2 separate regions of the Homo sapiens genome follow, and region 1 is linked to region 2. The links are contacts of gene promoters, found by promoter capture Hi-C in blood cells and fetal thymus (Javierre and others, 2016). All regions are on one chromosome and are shown on one strand. Each heading gives the region's core, a stretch centred on a gene start or on the middle of the fragment in contact. The rest is flanking DNA. Distances are from core to core; before and after follow the strand shown. Region 1 overlaps MBIP (MAP3K12 binding inhibitory protein 1). Region 2 holds the start of EAPP (E2F associated phosphoprotein).

Region 1 (4,575 bases), core at 2,054-4,553, 1.8 Mb after region 2:
CTGTGATAAACACTTTTTAATGTTAGCATTTACTTTGTGTAACCAAAATGAAAACCAGTTTGCAATATAGTCTATTATTAAGCAGAAGGAAACTCTACTGTCTTAATTACTAACTAAATCCATGAAATAAATTGAATTGTGTTCTAAAAGCTATTCATTTAAAAAATAAATAAAAGATTAGAGCAACTATAAAAATTGTGCTTAAAACCCTATGAAAATTAATTTCCAGGTAGTTACCTTGATTACAATCAATAACATTGCAAAATTCCCTGACGTTGTTTTCATTGATTTCAGCTTGCTTTCTTTCAATAAATGCAGATATTCGTCTGTCAATCTACAAACAACAAGTTTTAACAGTGTAAACATAAGATTTTTTAAAATAATACCCTCTCGCCCCCGCCAAAAAACCTTCTTACTTCTGCTTTTCCAGCCTTTATCTGAACTACTTCTGGATCAAAATGGATCTGTGTCTTTTTCACATCTCTTAAATCACTTTCTTTGTGCTTTTCTTCCTCTTGTAGGTCGCCAATGGAAAATTTGTCATTTACTTCATTTTTGTTCCCCATTTCTGTTCTTCCTATCTCTTCAACAGCAGTTGTATTCTCCTCTTTAATCGGAGACTGAAGTTTTGCTAAAAAAGGCTGAGAACAACACAATTCCATCTGCTGAGGTTCAATCTGACCAAAATTAATTACACACTTAATATATTTACATAAATTTCTGCTAAGTAAATGAAATACTTAATATCAGTTAATAAATATAAAAAGTTGGTATACCAGGACACATAGATCTGACCACATATAAGTACTCACTATTCTCTGCTATTGTAACCATTATCATTTGCTATAAATTTGTTTTTTAAAAAAGGAGAGAGGAAAAAAGAAAAGAAAAAAGAAAAGAAAACCTAAGGAAATTTAAAATTTTCTTTGAGAGAATCATTCTGTCACTCATCTTTTATTTTGTGCCAAATCAAAGCCTTCAGCCTCTGGCACCAATGCCACTTAATTAACATGTCATTCAAATGCCTCCTCAGAACACTAAGGCTTAGTATTTTTCCTCCTTAACACGAGAGCTAGTGCTCTCACTCAGCAAAGCCCTGCATTATCACTGTATCACTGGAGATTCTCCACTTGAAACTGCAGTTGGCCAATGTGAATGAGGAAGCATAGACATGAAATATATAGGTGTTAGGCTGAGTGAACACTCAGACTTTTCCTGACATGGCAAGATATCTTTTGGTCATAAAATTAAATTTTAAAAAAGAAAACGAACAAGAAAAAAAAAAGATCTATAGCTGAAAACAGGCAGAGGCCTATCACTATACTACAGGGGGAAAACCCCTGTTGTAGAATTTAAACTATATTACTCATTTACTGTTCCCCTCCCCCACTCCCCACAATGAGGTCTCATTTGAGTTCTAGAGCTCACTGCTCTGCCCTTTAAAAACAGGGTTAACTATTACTTTTAACATGAAACAGTTAAAATTTCCCACAAAGTCAATGAATGGAGGGCTGAAAATTAATGCCTATTCCATTAGTCAAAACACACTAACACTAATAACGTTCCAATTATTTTTTTCATACCTACAATTTTGCTTCCATTGTTCGCTATACTACTCTTTTGAAATCTTATAACACCTTAATCACAGTAAACTGACCAATCCAGTTTTTCCACTTATCTTTTTGACACTTCACATTTTACACTTTGATTAGAGATAAACTGCAAACTTACATCAATTATAATTGCAAAGATGTTCAATTAGAAACCAGCAAGGTCATAATACTGTTCAGTTATTAACATGAAATATTTAAAAATATAACAACACTATTATAAATACCAATTCAATATTAACTTCTAATATAAAGAATGAATTATTTCAAACTGTTAAGGAAAAGAAATGATAAAATAGTGACTGGCTACTTACTAAGATGAGACATTAATGTCATAGAAATTACTTTCTTTTTAAAAACTATGCTGAAACTGTTTAATTGCAATAGACACTCCAGGATGTGTCATGCTGGGATAATGCCCCTTCTTGAACCACTGAAAGCACTCCATGAGCCTCCAAACTCACCCAAGGCATGGAATCATTATCATAGCATGACACACACCTGCCGTGTCTTATTGCTTAATTATAACCCACCATAGATGGAACTGTATTGAATTTTCAGTGCAGGTCTAGAATTGAATAGAATTGCATTCATTCACTCATACCCACATTGGTCTTTTGGGCTATATTCCCTTAACTGTCCTGATCACTACTGAAATTAACAGATTTAGATTAAATCCGGATGTAAATAACGTTTTATTAGCAACACTATTAATATAGTGTTTAGAACTGTCAAATACTCCAACTAACTTAACCACAATCAATTTCTATTTTCAATATCGGGTTATCATTTCTAACAAGAAATTTACCTGTAAATATAAAATGTGTTGTTCAAGTGCACTAAAGAGCAATGCAGGCTGGAATGCCGAGAGGCTCTGGAGCTTGTTCCAATCGATTGTAATTTTCACCACATCATCTCTGAGGTCAAGCTTCAAAGGGGCAAACCAGCAACATCACAAAAATTACACGATTAAGCTCTACATATGGAATTGTCACAAAAATAAGATTTCTAGAGTAACGGGTCTATTTTGCTCTAAGTTATCAAGTTTTTAATAATACACTGAAATGCTCTACCCAGTTACCATTTCAAAAGGCCAAGAAAGCTACAGATTTTCATAAAAAAACAAAAACAAAATGACATGTCGTTCAAATTCTATTCTTAGGTCTGTGTAATGGGACCATTTTAGAGGTAAAACCATTCATGAAAGATGAAAAGATGAAGGCTCTTTTGATACTTCAATATATACAAACCTTTGGATGGAGTCCAATATAGGCTTGCCCTATTCAGAATCCTACTACTTCTAGCTCAGAGCCTTAAACAGAGGAAGTACAAGTGTTTTGTGAAAGTTTTAACATGCATCTTTCTCTTTAAGTATGTACACAAATACATATCAGAAATATATCATTATTCTGATGTCCTCCAAATCACATTTTTAGTTTTTTAACTTTTAACCGATTTTTAAACTAATTTAAAAGTCAAGATTATTCATACATATAAAGTGTAGGGATAAATGGCAACATGTTTATTTCAAATAAAAAACTATTATTTAGCAATGGAAGTCTGAAGCTGAAAAACAAAGACTTCTCCACCACAGTGAAATAAGTTGTCAGACTGGATGAAATGTCCAGATCTTTTGTAAATGCTAAGATGTGACAGCTCATTATATGGAAATTTCTATCAGTTGGTGATCTAATAGAATAAAATCATATCCAGAAAACTACCAAGAACCTGAATATAAGATTATTATCAAAATGAGTGAAAATTTTACAATGAGAGCGCCCATCTGCAGTCTTTTGAATGAATAAAAGTGAACCATCAAAAACTTTTCTAGGGACATGTGTTTACAGCATAGTATAAGACTATACTTCATAGTAGAATCAAGTTAACATAATTTATTCAAAATGAGTCATCTTTTCTACAAAATAAAGGTGTTACGTGAGTTCAAATACAGATTTTATGAGTCACAATTATAATAAAAAAGATGAATCACTGTACAAAGATCAAAAAGATATAAGGTTACCAATAAAAAGATAATATATTGAATAAATACTATGTGACAGAAATTTACTGCCCTTTGAAGATGAGAATGGAAGCATTTAAAAGTCCATATTAGACAAGTATAAAGAGATATGAAATTTCATGTAGGCTGCACTGGCAAAGATTAGAATATATTAAGATTGTACATTAAAGTTAATGCATTAATTTATATTACTTTAATTCCTATAAAGATTTTGTTAGACAACAACCTGTATTATGTATGGAAGTAACCCATTAATGTACTTTCATAGTCTTCAAGGAGATCTATAGTTGATTATAGAAAACTTAAGAATACAGCTTGGGGATAAAGCAGGCAAATCCTCAACCAAAGCAAAGTATCACATTTTCTAGAGAAAATAACTTATAGAAAAATAAGTCTTAATGTTTGGTTCATATTCTCATTTCAATTCAGCAGAATTACATAAGCTTCAAGTGCAATTAAGAATAATTAGTCTTTTAAGAAAACCACATAATGTCACAAATTAATTTTAAAACTGTCCTAATACATCTAACTATTCATTCAACAAATTCATTATTAGTAATATGAACTCTATGCATTTTGCCCTACAGAACTTGGAAGAGTAAACCACTCACTCGAAAATCTCTATTAGTCTGCTATTAATATAGACTATTTAAATATATATTTTCAGTAAAAACTTTACTAAATTAATACAAAAATCCAAGCTAAAAATAAATAATTGTTTAGCTTGGTAAGATGGACCATCCAGAGGCAAGCAAAAAGGTTAAAATTAGTAAATTTTGTGATCTTAAGTAAAAAATTATTTTTAACATTCAGTTTTATGTTTCCTACTGAGGAGATCTAATAATACAACGATACTTAGGGATGACACAGGATGAAGTTAGGCATGTTACAACATACATTCTAAATATCCTTTAAAGTGGTTGCAAAAGAAAATACTGATTTCTC
Region 2 (4,391 bases), core at 1,196-3,695:
CTGCCTTGGCCTTCCAAAGTGCTGGGATTACAGATGTGAGCCACTGCACCAGACCTGTATTATTTCTTATAACTGAATGTGAATCTACGAAAACTTCAAAATAAAATGTTTAATTTTTAAAAACTGAATCACAAAGTGAGAGCTATTTTTTCTACAAATTTTCTTCAATCCTTGTCATTATCTCAACCAAAGTCTCAGTTTTCAGCACTGCTGAGAAAGGCAGTCATACATCATGGACCCTAGATATGCAAGTTAAGTATGCCAAGAATGCAAGGTTCTGACCACTGTTCACTCCAGCCATTTCTCAGGATTGTGTTTGCAGCGAACAACAACCTTGAGGAATGAGATAATGTCTCCTTCCAGGACAAAGAGCAGATGTATTTACTGTCTTCTATGAAAGAGGTGGATTCTCCAAGCTCAAGTAGTCTTTAGCCACGATGCCAACCCACTGAATGTGCAGCATTCTTCTAGGACCCTCAGCGTAATACCTGTAGGGTTGACAAGCAAGAGCAAGCCACACAAACATGATGCTCATGCTGCTTGCTGTGCTATGTGTAGTCTTATCTTTGACCCAGGAGTCTCATGTCTTCGGTCAGCTACCGTGAAACAGTTAACAGGCTACAATGTATTAGTTTATAAACAGTGTAAAATTAAATACTGACAGACACCTCTCTAACACTAATCTCCCTTTTTAAAATAATAACCATTTGGCTCAGAGCCTACAACAGGCAATACTGTCTGATAACATTGTTTTGTTTTTATAATATTTATCTTTACAGTTACCTTACCAGTGGCAACTGTCACAGAATTATAAAGCTTCCTTAAAAAAATGATACAACAGTCCTGGCTCCGTGGCTCAGGCCTGTAATCCTAGCACTTTGGGAGCCCGACGCAGGCAGATTGCCTAAGGTCAGGAGTTCAAGACCAGCCTGGCCAACGTGGTGAAAACCCATCTCTACGAAAAATACAAAAAATAAGCCAGGTGTGGTAGCGCATGCCTGTAATCCCAGCTACCCAGGAGGCTGAGGCAGGAGAATTGCTGGAACCCAGGAGGTGGAGGCTACAGTGAGCCAAGATTGCACCAGTGCACTCCAGCCTGGCTGACAGAGTGAGACTCTGTCTCAAAATAAATAAATAAATAAATAAATAATTGAGACATACATATATACATACCTCCTTTCACAGACAGGACCCATTAACTGAAACTCTTTTTCACAGGGAATCCTGGTATCTATCCTCACTCCCAACAAAAGAAATCTTAACAGCAGTCTGATTTCCCATGCATCCAATGTCTCCCCATGACAATATGAGGAAACATTGTTCTTTTGATTTTTTTTTTTTTTAAGAAATGAGGTCTCACTATGTTGCCCAGGCTGTTCCTTTACTACCAGGCTTAAGAGATTCTCTCGCCTCAGACTCCCAAAGTCCTGGGATTACAGGCATGGGCCACCACACCCAGCCAAAGTTGTTAATGAAAGCATGGCTTTACAGAAAGCTTCTTTAGGCAGAATGAATGTTTTAAAGTTTAAGAATAGGATCTGCTGACAGCTTAAGAAATAACTAAATTTGTGTGGAAATATCTCGGCAAAACAGCTTCAAGTTTCCCTGGTAGAATAAAGCCCACCCTTCTGGAAATCCCACGAACCTTCTTCTGTGCCTATCTCAGGTCAATATTCTCTACAATGCTCTGCCAAGAAATATATACTTTATCTTATTACCCTTATTATACTATAAGCCTCTGGAAGACAAGGACCTTATGATTTATCTCTGTAGCTCAGAGCGAGCATACAACAGTCCCTGTCAAAAAATAAAAATAAAAAAGGCTGTTCAATATTCCCTTATTTCTGTTTATGGCAGTTTAGTCTTCAAGATGGACACTTCACATTAAGTCCTGTGAGCCTCACAACAAACATAGTGTGTTATACTATGTTATATAGGTTATACAATTATGTTATTATAGTTCAATTTTACAGGTGAGTAATCGAGGATAACTGACTTGCCTTCCGTCACTCTGCTACTAAGGTGTAGAGACAGGTTTCGATCTCATTGCTTTTGAAGATTTACACGCGGTCCCCCGTGATTCCGGAATATCCCTCTTCCTACAGGCGACATCGGCACCGCCTCCCCCCGGGACTGCGCGACCCCATCAGGAAAGCCCTTTGGCTTCGCACAAGTAACAGGCACGACAGGCTCCCGAGCCGCTAGGGTCTGCGTAGGCTCGGCAGGCGCAACGAATGGAGGCGACCAAAGCCAGGCCTCGACCCAAATCCTCGGGGGCCAGGGTGGGGCGGGAGCCCACCTGCTCAAAGCCGGCTCCTCGTCGCTAGGCTCTTCAACCGCGTAGGGGTCGTAGTCATCCGGAAGCCGGTTCATGGTGGCCTGCAGCGGCCTACACCGTCCACAAGCAATTTGCAGCGTCTCTGTTTACACTGCAAGTCCAGTCCCTAAAGCGCCCCTGACGCCACTTCCGCCTGAACGTCCCAGTCCCCCTTGCGCGCCCGCGCAGACCGACAGCACCGAGGGAGGCAGGTAGAAGGCGGGGAAGGGGCGGAGCAGGAGCGAAAAGGGGCGGGGACGGGACGGGGGCGGGTCTTAATCCCACCATTTTTGTTTTGTTTTGTTTTTTGGAGACGGAGTTTCGCTCTTGTTGCCCAGGCTGGAGTGCAATGGCGCGATCTCGGCTCACCGCAACCTCCGCCTCCCAGGTTCAAGCAATTCTCCTACCGCAGCCTCCCGAGTAGCTGGGATTACAGGCATACACCACCACGCCCGGCTAATTTTGTATTTTTAGTAGAGACGGGGGTTTCTCCATGTTGAGGCTGGTCTCGAACTCCGGACCTCAGGTGATCCGCCCACCTCGACCTTCCAAAATGCTGGGATTACAGGCGTGAGCCACCGCTCCCGGCCAATCCCACCATTTTCTTCCGCAGCTTCTGCTTACAGGAAAATAGCAGCTACCTTGTCACCAAAAATAATAATGATGGGCACCCTCATAAGTGACAGTCTCTGAGGTGAACATGCTACATGCAGCGTCTCATCACCTACGAAGCAGGAATCTAGACGCTGAGGGACACACAGCCCGAAATCCAATAAGTCCTCAGACACCAGCACCCACATCCCTCCAACCTCGCCTCTAACCCTTATGCCTTCCACACCATGAGGCTCTCAACCTCTCCTTCACACTGTTCACTCCTCAGTCTGACTGCGGCCTCAACAATCTACGAAAAGTTATCTTTTCTCGTCATCTTCCCAGTCCCCACTTTTGCTCAGCCCTCAACTGATCCCACTCGATACCTGAGGAGAACAGGCAGATGACAGCCACTTGAGCTCCATCGGGAGACTGTTTCTAACCCTGTTTCTGAACCAGGAACTCGGGTTCCTGCCTCCTACCGAGACACTGTGGCACTCTCTAAAATGTGGAGTAGCTGTAATAAATCTACTCCTGTATTATGCTTTACAGTGCAGGTCTTAGTTTTTCTTTTTTCTCATTTCTTTTGAAATGGCATCTCGAACAAAGTCCACCAATCCCTTTACAAAAGAATGAACTGCTCCTCTGTGTGTACTTCATAGAAGGTGGAATCGGACAGAAGCAGGTTAGTGACAGTTATTCCTGAAATACAGGAGCAGAGTACAGTCTGTTGTGGTTTCCCGGATTCCGCGCCTAGCTCAGCCAATTAAGCATGAGACATAGGCCATTGAGCCACTTAGTAGTTATGCGAGTGGATAGATTGGTATGTAGAGGGAAAGAGGTCTGCTGTAAAGAACAACACTTGTTTGTCTGTGGGGAAAGAAAAGCAGAATACTTGAGATGAAAGTTGGCATACAAATAGGATACTATCGCCAGTAGTTATATTACAAACATTATCGGCCTTTCTAGTGTGAATGAACATTAGACACATTATTGTCATTCCTAGTTTAAAGTTAAGGTTGCGTGGTTGGATTTTTCCACTATCTTTTTCTAATTTTTCTACCATTTGGAGACCGTAGGCATTTGGGCCTGTCACCCCTTGGATGGGTTCCTAGTTTGTTTACATTTTCCTGAACCCTCCTGAGCGCCCGTTCTTGGTCTAATCCCCAGTCGTGATGATTCCACACTTCCTCAGCCGCATGTTGTCTTGCCTCATTCATGAGCTGGTCAGCGTTTCGTCTCTTTAACTGACATGTTCCCCAGTGCTGTTTGAACTGTTGAGTTTCCGTTGCTGGCTGAGTGCGTTTTGTCCTTCACGTAACCTTCGCTGGTAAAAATAAGCCCATGTGATGTCCACCAGTGGATGAATGCTGGACCGAGAGCCCTAGCTTCTGGATCCAGGTCTAGGCCCTTCATCTGCTGCTCTGTGGCCCAGGGCAGGTTTGCTTGACCTCTGCCTCAGTTCTCGACTCTAAAGGACATA

Evidence for each region. The method cuts DNA at HindIII sites, captures the fragments that hold promoters and counts their contacts. A CHiCAGO score of 5 or more calls a contact.
Region 1: a fragment that was not itself captured here is called in contact with the fragment with the promoter of EAPP in region 2 in 1 of 17 cell types (activated CD4 T cells); the score reaches 6.3 in activated CD4 T cells.

The regions. Positions count from the first base shown.
Region 1 is chr14:36,314,275-36,318,849 of GRCh38, forward strand. MBIP (MAP3K12 binding inhibitory protein 1) reads right to left here. Exons shown (of 9, transcript NM_016586.3): 2 at 2,419-2,538; 3 at 417-641; 4 at 238-334. Among named protein-coding and RNA genes, the nearest start is that of MBIP, 4.1 kb to the right of the region's middle. The HindIII fragment of the contact is 1,535 bases long and covers 2,537-4,071 here.
Region 2 is chr14:34,537,256-34,541,646 of GRCh38, forward strand. EAPP (E2F associated phosphoprotein) reads right to left here and starts at 2,446. Exons shown (of 6, transcript NM_018453.4): 1 at 2,300-2,446. The coding sequence starts at 2,373. It overlaps LOC105370447 (a long non-coding RNA gene), which reads left to right and starts at 2,494. Exons shown (of 2, transcript XR_943739.1): 1 at 2,494-2,529; 2 at 2,931-4,391. It overlaps LOC112268123 (a long non-coding RNA gene), which reads right to left. Exons shown (of 2, transcript XR_002957583.1): 2 at 3,979-4,391. RefSeq lists silencers at 288-582, 2,524-2,623 and enhancers at 1,649-2,573, 2,224-2,383. The HindIII fragment of the contact is 15,759 bases long and covers 1,494-4,391 here.